7 separate regions of the Homo sapiens genome follow, and regions 1, 2, 3, 4, 5 and 7 are each linked to region 6. Evidence: promoter capture Hi-C in human tissues and cell types (Jung and others, 2019). All regions are on one chromosome and are shown on one strand. The core of a region is centred on a gene start or on the middle of the fragment in contact, and the rest is flanking DNA. Distances in the headings are between cores, read along the strand shown.

Evidence for each region. Contacts are between HindIII fragments. The study calls those that stand out against the background at their distance.
Region 1: a contact is called between the fragment with the promoter of GSC2 here and the fragment with the promoter of CLDN5 in region 6, in 5 of the 25 tissues and cell types used here (dorsolateral prefrontal cortex, lymphoblastoid cells, mesenchymal stem cells and 2 more).
Region 2: a contact is called between a fragment that was not itself captured here and the fragment with the promoter of CLDN5 in region 6, in 4 of the 25 tissues and cell types used here (lymphoblastoid cells, mesenchymal stem cells, spleen and 1 more).
Region 3: a fragment that was not itself captured here is called in contact with the fragment with the promoter of CLDN5 in region 6 in 3 of the 25 tissues and cell types used here (dorsolateral prefrontal cortex, lymphoblastoid cells and mesenchymal stem cells).
Region 4: a fragment that was not itself captured here is called in contact with the fragment with the promoter of CLDN5 in region 6 in 2 of the 25 tissues and cell types used here (dorsolateral prefrontal cortex and lymphoblastoid cells).
Region 5: a contact is called between a fragment that was not itself captured here and the fragment with the promoter of CLDN5 in region 6, in 2 of the 25 tissues and cell types used here (dorsolateral prefrontal cortex and lymphoblastoid cells).
Region 7: a contact is called between a fragment that was not itself captured here and the fragment with the promoter of CLDN5 in region 6, in 3 of the 25 tissues and cell types used here (dorsolateral prefrontal cortex, lymphoblastoid cells and pancreas).

Annotation. Positions count from the first base shown.
Region 1 is chr22:19,148,959-19,151,658 of GRCh38, forward strand. It overlaps GSC2 (goosecoid homeobox 2), which reads right to left and starts at 1,334. Exons shown (of 3, transcript NM_005315.2): 1 at 1,067-1,334; 2 at 705-958; 3 at 1-137. The coding sequence starts at 1,325. The coding sequence ends at 33. RefSeq lists an enhancer at 286-785. The HindIII fragment of the contact is 19,488 bases long and covers 1-2,700 here.
Region 2 is chr22:19,192,901-19,195,600 of GRCh38, forward strand. The region is part of intron 26 of CLTCL1 (clathrin heavy chain like 1); the gene reads right to left. Among named protein-coding and RNA genes, the nearest start is that of SLC25A1, 16 kb to the left of the region's middle. The HindIII fragment of the contact is 7,428 bases long and covers 1-2,700 here.
Region 3 is chr22:19,246,173-19,248,872 of GRCh38, forward strand. All of the region lies in intron 3 of CLTCL1 (clathrin heavy chain like 1), which reads right to left. Among named protein-coding and RNA genes, the nearest start is that of CLTCL1, 44 kb to the right of the region's middle. The HindIII fragment of the contact is 4,231 bases long and covers 1-2,700 here.
Region 4 is chr22:19,077,132-19,079,831 of GRCh38, forward strand. All of the region lies in intron 2 of DGCR2 (DiGeorge syndrome critical region gene 2), which reads right to left. Among named protein-coding and RNA genes, the nearest start is that of DGCR11, 30 kb to the left of the region's middle. The HindIII fragment of the contact is 4,816 bases long and covers 1-2,700 here.
Region 5 is chr22:19,932,357-19,935,056 of GRCh38, forward strand. All of the region lies in intron 1 of TXNRD2 (thioredoxin reductase 2), which reads right to left. LOC124905081 (endogenous retrovirus group K member 24 Gag polyprotein-like) reads left to right here and starts at 1,311. Exons shown (of 2, transcript XM_047441689.1): 1 at 1,311-1,374. The HindIII fragment of the contact is 3,352 bases long and covers 1-2,700 here.
Region 6 is chr22:19,522,980-19,525,679 of GRCh38, forward strand. It overlaps CLDN5 (claudin 5), which reads right to left and starts at 1,431. Exons shown (of 1, transcript NM_001363066.2): 1 at 48-1,431. The coding sequence starts at 1,276. The coding sequence ends at 620. RefSeq lists an enhancer at 1-46. The HindIII fragment of the contact is 10,668 bases long and covers 1,201-2,700 here.
Region 7 is chr22:19,105,591-19,108,290 of GRCh38, forward strand. All of the region lies in intron 1 of DGCR2 (DiGeorge syndrome critical region gene 2), which reads right to left. Among named protein-coding and RNA genes, the nearest start is that of DGCR2, 15 kb to the right of the region's middle. RefSeq lists an enhancer at 544-1,044. The HindIII fragment of the contact is 7,252 bases long and covers 1-2,700 here.

The DNA of each region.
Region 1 (2,700 bases), core at 84-2,583, 370 kb before region 6:
GTGGCCGAGCCCAGGGGCAGCTCCTAGAGTCATCAGCAGCTCCCCTTCGGGGACTTCTTGACGCCGGGCAGGAGCCTCGCGGAAGCCGACGCGCGCTTCTGGTGTCGCCATTTGGCCCGGCGGTTCTTGAACCAGACCTGGGGATGGGGGGAATGCTCAGCCCTAGCCCCAGGTCCTGCGTCCCACCGGCTCCCGAGGGTCCCACAGGGACCGAGAGGGGAGCTTCGCAACAGGGATGTGGGCGGACGGCGCTGTAGAGCCGACACCCGGGCCGCGGCTGCGCGCCACCTGCCCTTATTCGCTGCGGACAGACTCGGTGGGTCTGGACGCGAGATGGGAACCCCCTTAGTACCCGCCCCAGCCTCCAGCTGGCGGCGACCAGGACGCCCCTTCTTGGGTTGCGGGCTCTTCTGAATTTCCCAAATTCTGGACGTGAACGCGGGCCTCTTTCGTCACCAGAGGAAAGTGTAAAACAAAAGAAAAGAAAAGTAGCCCTCCGGTTCCTTTCCCGCGGCACCTCCCTGCTCTCACCCGCTCCTCATACCCCCGGACGCCCAGCGCCGTCCAGGGACCTCCTCCCTCCGGCGCGCCAGGGCGGGGCTTGGGCCGAGGCCGTCTTTGCAAAGGGCGCCCGCCCGCCAGGACCCCAGTCCAGTGTAGCCGCGGCCCGCGCGCTCCGGGGAAAGGCTGGGCGGGGCACTCACCTCCACGCGCTCCTCGCGAAGGCGGATGCGGCCGGCCAGGCGCTCGCGCGTACTCACGTCAGGATACTGGTTCTGCACGAAAAGCGCCTCGAGCGCCTGCAGCTGCTCTTCGCTGAAGATGGTGCGGTGGCGCCTCGTGCGCCGCTGCGAACCCGGGCCGACCGCGCCCGGGAGCGCCCCGGAACCTCCGGCTGGCGCACCCAGAGACAAGGGCACCGCCGGTCCCAGCCTCAGCGGCCACGCCAGACGAGCGCCTGCGGAGCGAGGGCGCGGTGAGGCGCGGGGCTGGGGCCAAGCTCGGCACCCACTGCGCCGCGCCCCGGGCTCCGCCGGGCCCCGCGCCCCGCTCCGCGCCCACTCACCCAGCCCGGCGGCCGCCTCTGGGGGCCCGCAGGGCGCCGCGCGGGGGCCGCAGCAGCAGCAGCAGGCGCAGGGCGCAGCCTCGGGCGCCCCGGGCTCCTCTGGCTTCGCGGGGCTCTGGCGACCGGCGGGCTGCGGTGGGCAGGCGGCCCGGGCCGGGAGGCTCCGCTCGGGCAGGCTGGAGAGGATGTGCTCGATGGAGAAGGGGCAGGGCCGCCCGGCACCCCGGCGGCTCGCCGCGCCCCCAGCCGCTGCCGCCATGCCCGGCCCGGCCGGGGCGCCGCCGCCGCGGGAATATATACGTCGGGGAGGGAGCGCGCAGTAATCCCCGGGCCGGGCGTCCAGTCCACGCGGGTTAATCCCGCAGCGCCGGCCGCGAACGCGCTAATCCTCGACTGCGGCGGCCCTGCCTCCGCGCGCGGGGGCCGGGGGCGCTGCAGAGAGGGCCCCCTGTGCCCCCCACCCCGCCCCGCGTCCTCCTGCCCCACCCGCGCCCGCCGCTCAAGCTGGCAGGGCGACCTGCGGGGAAGGGGCGGAGGGCCGCCTCGCCGCCGCCCGCGGGGCCTGGCAGCCGCTCGGAGGGCGCCCCGACCCTGGCAGCTCCCCAGAGCGCGGCGGTGCCTCCCGGCCCAGCCTCTGGTGGCTCCCCCTCGTTCGGCTGGGCCTAATTCCTCGTCCCCTCTGGGGCCCTACTGCGGCGGCTCAGCACGCCTGCAGAAGCTCGGCCTAGCCGCCCACCCGAAACTCCTGGACCGCAGCCTCCATGGGGCCCAGCACCACCGGCAACCGCACGATCCCGCCGCGCTCGGGTCCCGAACCTGCCCGCCACCTCGGAGCCAGGGTCTCATGGCCCTGGAGGGCGTGAGAGCGCGGCAGGAAGCCTGGGCTGCCGGGTGCCCCCAGTTCTCCGTCTCCTCACCTGTGTCAAGGAGACCTCCCCGCCCCTTCCGAGGCCCCTCCTCGGTGCTTCAGAGCCGCCTGTCCTCCAGCTTTCCCACTGGTCCCAGAATCCCCGCGAAAACATCCAACACTGCACCTCGCCCTTCCCCGCACTGTCACTGCCCCCCAGAAGCTGTGGGCTCCCCCTCCTCGCTCTCCGCCCAGGCCAGTCCTCTGGCCACACCGTCCTCGGTCCCTTCTGCCACAGCGCAGGTGACCCGCACTTGGCTACATTGTTTCACCCTCAGTGAAGCGGCTCCTGGCAGCGGGACCGTCACTTCAGCTTAAGACCCTTTCCTCTTGACCTTTGAAAATACAGTATGGGACTCATAGCACAGAGAAACAGACGGCCTGGCTCATACTCCGTTGTCAATTTCTGGCCGTGTGACCTCCATAGGCGTCTTCAGCCTCTGGGCTTGGCTTTCCCAATCTGTAAAGTGTAGTGACTAGGTGTGAGACGGTTAGAACCTGGCCGCCTCCCCAGGGCAATGCGTATTCCTGCGCTCCTCCCGCCGCCAGCCCCTCTGCAAGACTCTGCCATCCCCACTCTGCTATCAGTGAAAGTGCTGTGGACATCACTGTGACCGAACCTGCTGATTTAATTTCTGTCACAAGAGCTCCCACATAGGTTTCCCAGGGGTAGTCTGGAGGCTCAGTGATGAGCTGCCACCTCCATGAGTGGCTCTGTCAACCCCTC
Region 2 (2,700 bases), core at 40-2,539, 330 kb before region 6:
TGTCAGCCTTCTAGGCTGGCCCTTTACTCAGCAGCAGGGCCAGGACATGGGGGCCTCAACTAGACACTGAAGAAGCAGAGAGCAGTCAGGATGTGATGTGGGGCTGAAGAGAAGGGTAGGGACTCAAGTTCATCTTCTGTGGCGAATCACCTCCTCAAAGCCCCACCTGCTTCCCCACCAACCACAAGGCTCCTCAGGCCTCCCGTGAAGGAGAGGAACCATCCAAGGACAAGCCCATTTCAGAGACTCTTGCAGGTATCACGCGAGTGGACAGACTTGAAGTGGGGCACCAGCAGTCCTAGCTTCCCTTGTGGGACACCTGGTACCATGTGCACTCTTGGCCCTTTCAACAGGTCCATGCAGCATGGCCGGAATGCCGTTTAAGGTGGAGTATAACTGCCATGTTCCCACCCAGTTCCTCTGGTGTTGAGGCCTGCAGGGACACACATCTCTGTTGGGCTCAGCTGCTGGGATCTGGAGCCCTCTGCACTACAGGAGGAATGGAGCGGCGGGGCCCCTCTGGAGCGTCCTCCAGATCCAAGCTGAAAGACAGGATGGGGTGAGTCCACTAGCCACGCGCCAGGACATGGAGCACTGGCAGGCCCGTGCCCACTAGCATGGTCAGCAAGGACAGCCAGCACCCCAGAAGACATGGTAGTATCCCTGTTTTATACAAGGGAAAACTGAAGGCTGGGCGTGGTGGCTCACGCCTGTAATCCCAGCACTTTGGGAGGCCAAGGCAGGCGGATTGTGTCTGTAATTTATTCCTTCCGGTGGGTTCTTGGTCTCACTGACTTCAAGAATGAAGCCACAGACCCTCATGGTGAGTGTTACAGCTCTTAAAGATGTTGTGTCCAGAGTTTGTTCCTTCAGATGTTGAGAGGTGTGAGTTTCTTCCTTCTGGTGGGTTCGTGATCTGGCTGACTTCACAAATGAAGCTCCAGACCTTCGCAGTGAGTGTTACAGCTTTTAAACCTAGTGCAGACTCAATGAGTGAGCAGCAGCAAGACTGATTGTGAAAAGCAAAAGAACAAAGCTCCCACAACATGGAAAAAGACCCGAACAGGTTGCACTGCTGGCTCGCATGGCCAGCTTTTATTCCCTTATTTGGCCCCACCCACATCCTGCTGATTGGCCCATTTTACAGAGCGCTAATTGGTCCATTCTACAGAGTGCTGATTGGCCCATTTTACAGAGTGCTGATTGGTACGTTTTTTACAGAGTGCTGATTGGTGCATTTACAATCCTTTAGCTAGATGCAGAGTGCTGATTGGTGTACTTACAATCCTTTAGCTGGACACAAAATTTCTCCAAGTCCCCACCCGACCCAAGAAGTCCAGGTGGCGTCACCTCTCAAGATCACCTGAGGTCAGGAGTTTGAGAACAGCCTGCCCAACATGGTAAAACCCTGTATCTATTAAAAATACAAAAATGAGCCGGGCGTGGTGGCAGGCACCTGTAATCCCAGCTACTCTGGAGGCTGAGGCAGGAGAATCGCTCGAGGCTGGGAGGCGGAGGTTGCAGTGAGCCAAGATCGCGCCACTGCACTCCAGCCTGAGTGACAGAGTGAGACTCCGTTTCAAGAAAAATAATAATAAAACAAAAAAAGAAGAGAAAACTGAAGCTGAGATTCCGCCACAAGCTCCAGGATAGCTGGTTGGCGTGCTGTGCTGCACAACCTGAAAGAAGCGCCCACCGGATGCCAGGCACCTGCCATGGACCACTTGGTCGGGAGGAAACATGATGTCCATTGTATGGATGGGATAACGAGGTTCACAGCGGTGACACCCCTAGCCCACATGGAGAGAGACAGTGAATGGCTGAGCTGGGGTGCCCCCCGTGTGAGTTAGCAAGCTCCCCTGCTCAGGCTGCTGCTGGCCCAGCCCTATGGCTAAGTGGATTCCTGCTATCGTGTGCCCCAAATACAGATTGGATGTCGTCCATCTGATTGGACCCCTGCACTGGCGAGTATCCTCCTACCCCCTTCACACCTGAGCTGACAGTGTCTGTCTCCCACACGGCAGGGTGTAGTAGAAGCATCATGAATCACACAAGGAACTGGACTCAGCCATCAGCCCTGCAGGCACCAGATGAGAGATGCTGCTCTCCCACACAGTGAGTCTCAGCTGTCCTGCTATTATTTTATATGCCAGTAAGAAACAAAAGCATGGCCACTTCCACCACGGCTCAGCAATTTTTAAAAACACCCTAATATCAGAGGAGTTACAATGTGAATAAAATACACACAGGATTGATCAAGTATGGATTTTCCAGCACACAGACAAATCTACAAGGCAGCAGCCACGTGTGCCAGGCCACAGTAAGGTATGACCTGGCCGCACTCCCTCCAGCAACCTGCAGACTCTGCTCAGGGTGGGACGCCCCATCAAAGGCCCCCACTTTCACGTACCACCATGCCCAGTAACATGGATGTCCTCCAACAAGAAGCTCGGGCTTGTGGCCTGGTGCTCAATACTGGGTTCCTTCAAATAGTTCCCAGGAAAGGCAGAGGCTGAAGGCCTCACCTGGCAGCACACGTGCCACTCGCGCCCACCCTCAGTAGCCGCATGTGGAAAAGAGGTGCATGAGCGAGGCCACAGCTCACTGCTGTGCCACTCCAGTCACAAGCCGACTGTGACAAGTTAGTTACCCAAAGACCATGGCACAAAGCGCAGATACCCAATGCAAAGGGATGGGGGC
Region 3 (2,700 bases), core at 127-2,626, 280 kb before region 6:
CCTCAGCCTCCCAAGTAGCTGGGACTACAGGCGCCTGCCACCATGCCCGGCTAGTTTTTTTGTATTTTTAGTAGAGACAGGGTTTCACCGTGTTAGCCAGGATGGTCTTGATCTCCTGACCTCGTGATCCACCTGCCTCAGCCTCCCAAAGTGCTGGGATTACAGGTGTGAGCCACCACGCCTGGCCTTATGTTTAACTTTTTGAGGAACCACCAAACTGCTTTCCACAGCATCTGAACATTTTTATATTCCTACCACTAATGTAGGAGGGTTCCAATTTCTCCATAACATTGCCAACACTTCTTTTCTTTTCTTTTTTTTGAGATGGAGTTTCGCTCTTGTTGCCCAGGCTGGAGTGCAATGGCGCGATCTCGGCTCACTTCAACCTCTGCCTTCCAGGTTCAAGCAATTCTCCTGCCTCAGCCTCCGGAGTAGCTGGGATTAAAGGCATGCACCACCACACCCGGCTAATTTTGTATTTTTACTAGAGATGGGGTTTCTCCATGTTGGTCAGGCTGGTCTCAAACTCCTGACCTCAGGGCCAACACTTATTTTCTACTTTGTAAAAATTATAACCATTCGAGTGGGTGTAAAGTGGTACTTCATTGTGGTTTTGAATTGCATTTTCCTAATGGCTAATGATGTCAAGCAAGTCATTTGCCCACTTTTTAACTGGGTTGACTTTTTGTTGTTGAGTTGTAAGTGTTCTTTGTATATCTGGATACTAGACCCTTATCAGATAGATGATTTTCAAATATTACATCCCAGGTTGTCTTTTCACTTTATTGGCAATATCCTTTTATGCACAAAAGTTTTTAATTCTGAAGTCCAAATTATCTATTTTTTAATTTTGTTGTTCAGGCTTTTGGTGCTATTATATATCTAAGAATCCATGCCAAATCCAAAGTCATAAAGCTTTCTCCTTATGTTTTCTTCTAAGAGTTTTGTAGTTTTACCTTCTACATTGAGGTTTCAGATCTATTTTGAGTTTATTTTTGTACATGGTGTGAGGCAGGTGACCAACTCCATTCTTTTGCATGTGGATATTTAGTTGTCCCAGCACCATTCCTGAAGAGACTATTGTTTCACCATTGAACAGTCTTGACACTCTCATCAAAAATCAATTGGCCACAGATGTAGGGGTGTATTCCTGGACCTTACATTTTTTCCCATTGGTCTACATGTCTATTCTTATGCCCATGAGGTGTTTTGTTGTTGGTAAATGCATGGGATTTTTTTATTTGTTGTTTTTTAGTTTGTCAGTAAAGCATATACATGTAACTATGATTTATAATTTTTGTTTTATATTCTTCAAACATGATGATTTCTTTGTAAAGAGGCATAATTCCCAAGAGTTTTTATTTTGTTGTTGTTGTTGTCATTTGTTTTGTTTTGTTTTGTTTTTGAGGCAGAGTTCCACTCTTGTTGCCCAGGCTGGAGTGCAATGGTGTGATCTCGGCTCACTGCAACCTCTGCATCCTGGGTTCAGGCGATTCTCCCGCCTCAGCCTCCCAAGTAGCTGGGATTACAGGCACATGCCACAACTCTCGGCTAATTTTTGTATTTTTAGTAAAGACGGGGTTTCACCACATTGGCCAGGCTGGTCTCGAACTCCTGACTTCAGGTGATCCTCCTGCCTTGGCCTCCCAAAGTGCTGGGATTAAAGGTGTGAGTCACCGTGCCTGGCCCCCAAGGGTATTTTTAAAAGCTTAATTGAGATATAATTCACATACCATAGAACTTATCTATTTAAAGCAAGCTTGTCCAACATGTGGCCCAGTATAGCCTTGTATGTGGCCCAAACACAAATTCATAAACTTTCTTAAAGCATTATGAACTTTTGGCTGGGCATGGTGGCTCACACCTGTAATCCCAGCACTTTGGGAGGCCGAGGCAGGCAGATCACCTGAGGTCAGGAGTTCGAGACCAGACTGACCAACATGGAGAAACCCCATCACTACTAAAAATACAAAATTAGCCAGGTGTGGTGGTGCATGCCTGTAGTCCCAGTTATTCAGGAAGGCTGAGGCAGTAGAATCGCTTGAACCCGGGAGGCGGAGGTTGCGGTGAGCCAAGACCATGCCACTGCACTCCAGCCTGGGCAACAAGAGCAAAACTCGGTCTCAAAAAAAAAAAATTATGAATTTTTTTGCAATTTTTGTTTTTAGCTCATCAGCTATTGCTAGTGTATTTTATGTGTGACCCAAGACAATTCTTCTTCCAGTGTGGCCCAGGGGATCCAAAAGATCAGACACCCCTGGTTTAAAGCATACCATCCAATGTTTCTTCGTATACTCAGAGGGCTGTGCAATCATCACTACAACATAGTTTTAGAACACTTTCATCCTTTGAAAGAAACCCTATTAGCATTCAATCCTCATTCCTATCTCCCAGACTCCACCTCCAGTCATAGGCAACTACTTATCTATTTTCTGTGTCTATAGGTCAGACTATCCTGAACATTTCAAATAAATGGAATCATATAGTATGTGGTCTTTTGTGACTGGCATCTTTCACTTAGCTTAATATTTCCAAGGTTCATTCATGATGTATTTTTAGTAGAGATGGGGTTTCGCCATGTTGGCCAGGCTGGTCTTGAAATCCTGACCACAGGGTGATCTGCCTGCCTCAGCCTCCCTCCCAAAGTGCTGGGATTACAGGCATGAGCCACTGTGCCTGGCCCTTCTAAGAGTTTTATAG
Region 4 (2,700 bases), core at 185-2,684, 450 kb before region 6:
CTGTAGGCTGCCTTTTCACTCTGTTGAGTGCTTCTTTTAATTAATAGAAGTTTTAAATTTTGACGTAGCTTAATTTATCTATTGTTTCTTTTGTTGCCTGTGATTTAAGTGTCTTATGTAAGAAATCATTGCCAAATCCAGTGTCACGAAGACTTTATTATGTTTTTCTAAGAATTTTATAGTTTAAGGTCTTAAATTTAAGCCTGATCCATTTTGGGTTAAGTTTTGTATATCATTAGCTAAGGGTCTAACTTTATTCTTTTGATTTGTATGTCCAGTTTTCCTAGCACCATTCATTCTGAAAAGACACTTTTTCCCTCACTGAATGGTAATGGCATCCTTGTGGAAAATAATTTGACCACTGTATGCAAGGACTTATTGCTAAGGCTCTGTATTCTATTCCATTGGTCTATATGTCTGTCTTTATACCAATACTACAATGTTTGGATTACTGCAGCTTTGTAATAAGGTTTAAAGTCAGGAATTATGAGGATTTCATATTTCTTCTTCTTTTTCAAGACTGTTCTGGCTCTTTGGAGTCTGCTGAGATTCTATGAACATTAGGATAAATTTTTCTACTTCAGCAAAAAAAACTTGTTGGCATTTTAATAGGGATTGAATCTGTAGATTGCTTTAGGTAATAGTCACATCTTACGTTTTACAGTCCATGAGCATGGAACATCTCTCAATTTATTTTTGTCTTTTTTTTTTTTTTGAGACAGTGTCTCACTCTGTCACCCAGGCTGGAGTGCAGTGGTGCGATCTCAGCTTACTGCAATCTTCACGTTCTGGGTTCAAGCAATTCTCCTGCCTCAGCCTCCTGAGTAGCTGGGACTACAGGTGCACCTCACCACACCCAGCTAAGTTTTGTATTTTTCACCAAGACAAGGTTTTGCCATGTTGGCCAGGCTGGTCCTGAACTCCTGACCTCAAGTGATCCACCCGCCTTGGCCTCCCAAAATGCTGGGATTACAGGTGTGAGCTACCACACCCAGTGTCTTCTTTAATTTCTTTTAACATTTTGTAGTTGTCAGTGTTTTCAGTCTTTCATGTGTACTTAAGAATATTCTTTAGTACAGACAGACCCCCAACTTATGATAGTTTGACTAAAAAATTTTTCGACTTTACAATAGGTTTAAGACATAAATCTGTTATAAGTTGAGGAATATCTGTATTTTATTCTTTGTACTATTACTGTAAATGGAATTATTTTCTTAATTTCCTCTTCAGATAGCTGAGTTAGTGTACATAAATATAAATACAACTGATTTTGTGTTTTGACTTTGTGCCCTGCAATTTTGCTGAATTCATTTATTAGTTCTAACCATGTTTCTGTGAAATCTTTAAGGTTTTTATATATAAAATCATGTCGTCACACATACAAACAGGGATAACTTTACTTCTCCCTTTCCAATTTTGATGGCTTTCTCTTCTTGATTAATTACTGTGGGCAATTAACTTCAATACTATGGTGAATAAGTGGTGAAAGCAGACATCCTTGTCTTGTCTCTGATCTTAGAGGAAAAGCTTTCAGTCTTTGACCACTGACTGATTTTAGTTTGCTGAGACATCCTTGCATTACATTTGGTCCAAGCCTTTTGACAGACTGCTAAACTTGGTTAACTTGGTTTTGCTAGTATTTTGTTGAGGATTTTGTATCAATATTCACAAAGGATATTGGTCTGTAATTTTCTAGTAGTATTACTGTCTGGCTTTGGTATCAGGGCATGTTAGAGTCACAGAATGAATTCACTTGAGAAGGACTGATGTTAATTCTTCTTTAAACGTTTGGAGAATTCATCAGTGAAGCCATGTGGTTCAGGACTTTTCTTTGTTGAGAGGTTTTTGATTACTGATTCAATCTCCTTATTAATTATAGTCCTATTCAGATTTTCTATTTCCTCATGATTCAGTCTTGGCAGGTTGTATGTTTCTAGGAATGTGTCCGCTTCATTTAGGTTAAGCAATTTGTTAATGTACAATTCTTAACAGTATTCTCTTATAATCCTGGCATCAAGTAATCCTCCCACCTTGAACTCCCAAAGCACTGAGATGACAGATATGAGCCCAGCCCAAAATCCAAAACTCTTGAGTGCCAACGTTGTACTCAAAGGAAATGCTCACTGGAGTGTTCAACTGGTAAGTATAATGTAAATATTCCAAAATCAGAAAAAAATCCAAAATCCAAAACACTTCTGGTCCCAAACATTTCAGTTAAGGGATACTCAATCTGTATTTTGAATGTGGCTTTTTCTTGATTAGGCATTTTCTTAGCTGGGCTAAGAAACCTCTGACTGTTTTCCAGAGCTTCTATAAAGTTATTCCATCTAGTCCCTAGTTGCTTATTAATGTTTTCTATGGTGGAACGAGAACCTGGAGCTTCCTGGACTGCCATTTTACCAATGTCAGAATACATTTTTTTAAGTTTTATTACATGAATAAAGTAACTGCTAATTGAGGGATTACTGTGTGCTACATTCTTGTCTAATCCCTTTATATGTAGCATGTAATGTAATCCTCACAACAACCCCAAGTGACAGGCACTATTATTTTCTCCATTTTATGGATGCAATTTGCCCAAAGGATCACAGCCAGTAAGTGGTGAAAGCAGGGGAGCAGCCCCAGTCCCTGGCTCAAGCCCCCACATTTAACCACGATATGACATACAGCAGAGCTGGCTGCCTCAGGCCACTTTGCTGT
Region 5 (2,700 bases), core at 92-2,591, 410 kb after region 6:
CTTGGTCCTCCATGGTGGCTCACTGCACATAGTGCCACTCTCAGCCTTTTTAGCCTGCAAAAGGTGTCATCGTGTCTACTCTGCAAGCTACTGGCGAGGAAGGCAGGCAAGGGGCAGCCAAAAAAGGGAGGGATGGAGAAGGGACTGGAGGGAGGAAGTAGAGAGGGGAAGTACACTGAACTGGGCCTGAGGTCCGGGACACCCAGCACCAGGCACCAGCCAACTCCCTGCTGAAGGAAGGAAGAAATAATAGCAAGTCATCAGTCTGCTGGGGTGAGGGCAGGGTGGGGACTGATGACAAGACTCTAGGGTATAAAACAAGTAGTGCCCTCAGCCCCTCTGCAGACACGAGCCTGCCCAGATGAGAAGCACCACCCTCCCAGAGCATCTGGAGCCGGTCGCTGCTTCAGACAAGGCCAAGAGGTTCCATGATCAGAGCAGGGTCTGTCATACAAGGCTGGGCAACCTGCCCAACACCTCCATCAGAGCCTAGCGTCTGCCATGAGAAGGCTGCACTTATCTTTGCAGCCACCTCCACCTTCCTAGGCAGGCAAGGCTGCAGAGAGTGTACTTGGAGTGTCATGTCTCTCCACACCCTGGCCCTGCAGATGCCCCACAGACAGGTCTAGAACATGCACTCCTAAAGGATACAAGAGCTGGAGCCTAGAGGAGCCCTGGCTCACAGCTGAGAAAGCTTGGGAAGCTGCATCCAGGCACTCAGGCCATGGCCTGCAGCGAGCCTGCCCCACAACCAAACCCACCCACTCTTTCACCTGGCAGCCAGCCTCTGAGTGCACGTGAGATGTGTGCGCACCTGCGGGAACTGACAGAGCCACAACTCGGTTCCAACAGCCAGTCCAAAGCACACTCAATTCCTAATTCAACTCAAGGGCTCTGGAAAGGCCTAAATTGTTGTAAATTATTCTAATGGCTTTAATATAAGTCTAGAGAACCAAGGACTGCTGGTCAGGGAGAAAATGCCACCAGGTCCCCCGGGGAGCATGAACCTGCTGATGGAGAAGCATCTCTCTCCTCCAGCTGCCTGGTAGCCGGAAGCTTTGCTCAGAACGTCCCTACCTTCCATGGCAGGTGCCTGTCCTTCTTGTTGCCATAGCAGGGCCCTTGTTAGGTCATCCTGCCCTGCAGCCTCGCACTGTGCCCCCTCTGTCTGCTATCAGGCAGGGTGAGCAGCTGTCTGTATGGATGTGCTTATCTTGGGCAGCTTGCTCGCCCCCTGTGCACACCCAGGAGCCCTCTCGGGCTGATAAACACTGGCATAGGGCAGTCGTTTGCAAGCATAGGAAATCTGCCTTTAAGCACTTGGAAGGGCTTGGGTAGCCTGCTGGGAAGGAAGGACCCCAAAGTACCTCAAAGGTGGGTAGGGCAGATGCTGTTCTGTGGGAGGAAGGGCTGGGTGGCAGGCGTTACCTGGGGACACACCACCTGTGCACTCCAGTGTCCTGGAGAACCTCATAACCTTGCCTTTCACCCACTTTAGCCAGGCATACCCTCTCCACCTGCAGGGCTTGGCCCCAGCAAGTGTCTGTCTTGCCTCTGCCTTCTGACATATTGTCCATTAATTTTCTGCTCCTCTTTGAACCCACTGCCTGGTACAGGCCAGCAAAGAGCAGGAGCCCAGAGCTCATAGCAAGGCCCAAGAGAATGCAGCACTGCACCAGTGAGGGCAAGTGGAAGGGTCCCCCAAAATGTGCACCCACAGGCAGGCTGGCCACCTCAGGGTGCCACCTCAGGGGCCCTCCTGTATGGCTGCTCTATCTAGAGCTCTTTCCTGGCAGCAGGTGTTGTCATTCTGGCTCCTGTTCAGGGGCTGCATCGCCCACCCACTCCAAGCCTGGGACAGTTCAGGTCTTCCTACTCTAAAAGGAGAAACTGCAGGGCCCACAGTCCCAGCTACTAGGGAGGCTGAGGCTGGAGGGTGAGTTGAACCCAGGAGTTCAAGGCTGCAGTGAGCTATGATAGCACCACTGCACTCCAGCCTGGTTAACAGAGTGAGACTCTGTCTCAGAAAAAAAAAAAAAAAAAAACTGCACCCCTAGTCTGGGTACAGTGGCTCACACCTGTGTTGCAGGAAGTCAGGAACCCCGAATGGAGGGACTGGCTGGAGCCGTGGCAGAGGAACATAAATAGTGAAGATTTCATTTCAATATGAACATTTATCAATTCCCAAGTAATACTTTTATACTTTTTTCTTTTTTTTTTTTTTGAGGCAGATTCTCTCTCTGTCGCCCAGGCTGGGGTGCAGTGGCACAATCTCAGCTCACTGCAAGCTCCGCCTCCTGGGTTCACACCATTCTCCTGTCTCAGCCTCCTGAGTAGCTGGGACTACAGGCACCCGCCACCACACCTGGCTAATTTTTTGTACTTTCAGGAGAGACAGGGTTTCACCATGTTAGCCAGGATGGTCTTGATCTCCTCACCTTGTGATATGGCTGCCTCGGCCTCTCAAAGTGCTAGGATTACAGGCATGAGCCACCGCGCCTGGGCCCCCAAGTAATACTTTTATAATTTCTTATGCCTGTCTTTATCTCTTAATCCTGTTATCTTCATAAGCTGATAATATACATCACCTCAGGACCACTGTGATAATTGTGTTAACTGTAGAAATTGATTGTAAAACGTGTGTTTGAACAATATGAAATCAGCGCACCTTGAAAAAGAACAGAATAACAGTGATTTTTA
Region 6 (2,700 bases), core at 181-2,680:
TGCTGGACACGGAAGATGGCTGGACAGAGAACAGGACACAGGTGGGAGAGAGTTCAAACCATTTACTAAGCAGATTCTTAGCCTTCCCACTCCCGCCCTCTCTCAAGCTCCGGTGCCCACAAGCCTTGCCTGGGGAGATGCTGGAGTGAGACCGGGAGGTCCAGGCCAAGTCACTGGTCCCTGGGCTCGGGCCCTGCCGATGGAGTAAAGACCAGCTGTACACATCTTCCGGTGGGGGCCCTGGGCTCTGCATCCGCCCCTCCGAAGTCAGCAGGAGCCTCTGGGAAGTAAGGCAGCAGCCAAGACCCCCAGCGTCTTGGAGGGGAAGCGAAATCCTCAGTCTGACACCCGCTCTGCCTATGGAAACAGCGCCGCGCACAGAAAAGGAAACTTCATTCCGTCTGTTAAGGGCAGGGCCGGGCTAGTGGCAGGAGAAGGTCAGCTGCGGGCGCAGGCAGGAGCGGATCCAGGAGCCGCGTCGGGGCGCAGAGCCGGACGTTCCGAGGAGCCTGCGCGCCGCGCTACCCGGCGGAAGCCGCGGTCCATGCGGGGCTCCCCAGGCTTATCCAACGCCTCGCAGGCGTGGCTGGCAGGAGGGGCCCGGCCGTGCCCAGCGCCCTCAGACGTAGTTCTTCTTGTCGTAGTCGCCGGTGGCCGTGGGCCGCCGCGGCGCTGAGTACTTCACGGGGAAGCTGAGGTCGGGACGGCCGGTGCAGACCCAGGCGCCGCAGCACAAGAGGCAGCCGCCTACCATGAGCAGCGCGGTGGCCGCCCAGCCGATGTACAGCGCTGCGCCCAGCTCGTACTTCTGCGACACGGGCACAGACGGGTCGTAAAACTCGCGGACGACAATGTTGGCGAACCAGCAGAGTGGCACGAGCGCCAGCAGCCCGCAAAACAGGTAGAGCACGCCTCCCGTGAGGGCCACACGCGCCTTGGCCGGGCCCGGGGCCACGCAGGTGGTGCACTGCGCGCCCGCCAGGGTCACGAAGAGCGCAACGAACGCCAGCAGCACGGCGCTCACGGTGAGCGCCCGCGCCGCCTGCACCTCGGTGCTCAGAGCCAGCACCGAGTCGTACACTTTGCACTGCATGTGCCCGGTGCTCTGCACCACGCACGACATCCACAGCCCCTTCCAGGTGGTCTGCGCCGTCACGATGTTGTGGTCCAGGAAGGCGGTCACCTGCCACATGGGCAGCCCGCACGCCAGGATCAGACCCCCCCAGCCCACCAGGCACAGCACCAGGCCCAGGATCTCCAACGCTGCGGACCCCATGGCTAGAGGCGAGACGCGCACCCGAAGGCCCGCAGAACCCCCAAGGCCGTGCTGCGCGGCGCCCTGGGCGGGCCCTGGTGCCTTTGCGCCCGCGCTCCCGGCTCTTGGCCCCAGTCCGTTTGCCCCGCGGGTCTGTCGCACCTCCTGGGTCTGCCAGCTCCTGCCGGGGGGTACCCTCTTTGAAGGTTCGGGGGCGGATTCTGTCCCCCGGGCCCGGCCCCCCGGCCCGAAGCAGCCAATCCGTGCGCGGGTCATCGTGCCGCAGCCAATCACAGAGCCTCTGGCAGCTGAAGTTAGGGAAACAACGGCTCTTGAGGGGTAGCTGAGGGCGCGGGACCGCTCCCCGCCCGGCAGCCGCCCCCAGCCCCACCCGCCGTTGTCCTAGTCGCGGCCGAGCGCATTCTGGGCTGGCCTAGGGCGCGCTTCTTGGGCCGCCTCCCTGCGCGTCCCGGCCCCGTCACTTCAGAAGGCGCTCGACCCCCAGTCTGCACCACCCAGTCCACTCCCACATCCCCGACTGAGCCGGGTGGTCTCTTCCACTCGAGCCAGCTCCACTTCCCTGACCAAGGTTTGCAGAAGCCCCCCACCCCGTCACCGCCGTAGAGGCCCTCGTAGGGGGGCTCTCCAGAAAGCCCGCCCCGGGGTCCAAGCCCCACCCAGGCCCTTTCTCGCACTCTCACTCTCCAGCCCCGCTCTGAGTCCCAGCACTGTCTCTCTCATCCCATGGCAAACAGAGAGGCCAGGCAGGCGTGTGGAGGTCAGGCCCAGGGCCCCAGCCTCACCCCCCATGCCACTCACTGCCTCTCTGGAGCCTGAGTCTCTGGCAAAAAGCGGTGGCACAGGGGCTTTCCCCCTGCCTGGCGACCCCCACTCTCCCAAGCCGCAGGGGCTTCCCAGACCTCTCAATCTTCACAGGGGCTGCTCCTCTTCCTGCGGTACTGCCCGCACCCCATCCTTGGGGGCCCAGTTCAGGTGACACCACTTCAGGAAGTTCCCAGTGACCCAGCACACTGGGTGTAGCACCCAGGGGCAGTGGTGGCCCCAGGCCTAGCAGCCTGCTCTGGCCTTCAGACAGGAGAGACAAAGGGACACGGAGGGGCTGTGCCCTGCCCTCCCACCAGTGGCGATGGTGTCCCTGGCACCCCAGCCCCCAGGCCACCCTCCGGAAGCCAACTTGGAGTTTCCTGGCCAGGAGGAAGAGCCCCCATCCTTGCTGGAGGAGGGAGGCGCGGGATTTCCGGGCATTCTTCTGCACAATGGCCCAGCCATTTCTCGAAAGGTCCACTGGTGTGGACACTCCGGGCCCCCTGAGGCTCAGGTGGGGGCACGCGGCTCCAAAACCCACAGCCCCATGGGGGCACCAGCCCCTTTCTAGTAGTTCTTTCCCCAGTCTCTCTCGGCCCCTTTGTTTCCAGTAAAGTTTG
Region 7 (2,700 bases), core at 166-2,665, 420 kb before region 6:
GTACTCCGGGGCCCCAGAGGGACTTCGGGACCAGATAGCTTCATGGGATGTGCTATAACTCCAGAAAGGGACGCGGCTGGCGATGGAGGAGTGCATCATCAGAACACCAACCTGCGTCAGACAGAGAGCAGACCTGGGAGGGCAGAGCTAGGAAGTGAGGAAAGGCAGGACCTGGCATTCCAAACAGTGCACAGACCATCCCAGAACCAACTGTGATCACATCACAAACTCCCTGCCTTCTCTACAGTGCTCAAATGCCATCTGCCCTTTTATGGAGTCCAAGGGCCACCTCTAACCTTCCCGCAAAGCCCCACATCCAGGTTCTTGGGGGTCCCGGCTCACCAGTCCCTGCAGCTCTCCCCTGAAGCCCGTCTAGCCCCTTCCCCATCGCTGCCACTGCCCCGTAGCACCAGCAGGCCAGCACACAACCTCCCCACCCCTGTAGCTTCCTGGAACCACGCAGGGAGACTGGCTTGGAAAGACGCCCCAGAGATCCGTTGCGAGACAAACAGCAGGCTTCAGCTCCTGGCCCGTGCAACCCTGCTCAGCCTCGCCAGGCTGCTTCCTCCATCTGTAAAGCATGGAGGTGACCATCCTGCCCTGCCTATCCCTCCTGACTTCCACGGAGGTGATGAGGCCCAAAAGAGAAAATTACTCCAACAATGCTCAGCTGCTGAAGTTTCACATATGCCACCCTTAGGAACAATCCTGGGAGGTCCTCTGCAGAGATAAATGCTCTGAGAGGGACCCACAAGGGCAAAGAGAGGATGGGAGGCAGGAACCATGGCCAGGGGTTCTGTGCAGTTTGACCTGCCACTGCGTCTCAGCAGCAGGGGGCAGTGAAGACTGCTGATACCTGGAGGCCTGAGCATCCTCTGTACTGGCAGCCACCAGGCTACAGCACCAACGATGCCAGCATCTGAACCTCAAGCCACAAGGAGCCCAGAGGCCAGCCGGCTCCTCACCCATGAGGGCCCAGAGTTCAAACGGGAACAAGACATGTGTGGCTCATGGAAAATGATGAGATTGGAAGTTTCATTAGCAAAATGTGAAGGAAGGCCCGAAGCTGTTCTATGTATTGAAACCCCCAACTAGTCCAGCCAGCTAGCTTCTCAGAGGGGCTGACCCGCCTACTCAGTGTCCCACATCAAGTTGGCAGCAGCAGAATGGGCATCAGAGGTCAGGCTGTGGGCTCTTTGACCCAAATCCCCATCCCTGAAGCCAGCAGAGCCCCTGGGTGGGGCTCTGCATTCTGACTCCCTAGAGGACCAGGTCCAAACTTTCCAGTTCTGAGCCATTTCCTTCACCGAGACAGCAGTCAGCAGAGCCTCTGGGGGCTCACTGCACAAAGCCCAGGGATACCAGAGCCCCACCACCAGTCTGGTGCAGAGCCAAGGATGTACCAACATATTGTACTTTTTTTCCCTACCAGTGGCCAGTTACTAGAACAAAATATTTTACACCTGCAAACACTCCTGCTGTGGTTTTGAAATATGCCTGCAACTTCTTTGATATGGCTCCCTAAATGGCAGTAGCTCCCCAAACACATAACCACCAAACCCATTTCCAAACAGCCCCCGGGGCAAGTGGAATCTCTGAGTGAAGGCTCCACCCTCAGTCACTCCTCCCCTGGACCCTGGAGCTCCTGACTCCCCATCACCACCACTGGAGACAGGTGGCCAGCTCTCCTGCAACAGTGGAGAGGGAGTAGGGTTGCCAAGCGCTAGGGGAGTGCCAGCCACTTTCTCCCACAGCCCAAGGGGTCACAACACTGACACTGGGGAACACCACACAAGAACAAAGGGACAAGGCCTATGCTTCAGCATTTATTTCTCATAAATAACAAGCATTTTCTACCTCCAGGAGAAGAAGTGATCACCACCTGCTACCATCTATCTGTAGATGCTGTCCAACCAAAACACTGGCTCAGCTGCTCTGCCCTGTGGCTTCTCCTTAGGCAGATGTTTGGGAAAGAAGGCCCTGTTTAAAATAAGTTATCCTAGAAAAGAAGGGAAGGTCCTAAGAAAAAGGAAGGGATCATATAAGATGAAAGAAGAGAAAGGCAGGTCCACCAAGCATACCTATTCCATGAGTGACACTTTCAAGAAAAGAACAGCAACTTGCAATCAGTCCTTATTTCATGGGGGTTCGGGCAGGAGGGGCTACATACTTGGGAATAAGACCAGGGCAGGAGGGTGGGACAGAACTGGAGCGAGAGCTATCTCGCATCTGATGTAAACATCAGCCAGCAGTTTCATCCAACACTCGCACCACATTTCGATCATAGCCACAGGATAGCGCAGCCAATTTCTCTAAGAGAAAGAACAGCTGTAGTCAAATCAGATTCCTGAATGCTCATTTTGCATGTGCCAGGCAGTATATCAAGTGCTTAGAATACATTATTATGAATCCTTAAGACAACTCATTTGCTCCTTCCATGAACACCGCCGTGTACCTCCTAGGGGCCAGGTGTTGTACAGGACACAAGTGAGAAGAGCAGGAGGAGAACCATAAGGTGTCTGCCCCCACGAAGCTCAGATTTTACTAGGGAAGGAGAAGAACTTCGTAACCTTGGGGTAGGCAAGGATTTATTAGACAAAAACAGAAAGCATGACCATAACAAGAAAAAATGATAAATCAGACTTCTTTAAAATTAAAAAAGTCTTTGATCAAAAGCTTAGTAAAGATACACAGACCACA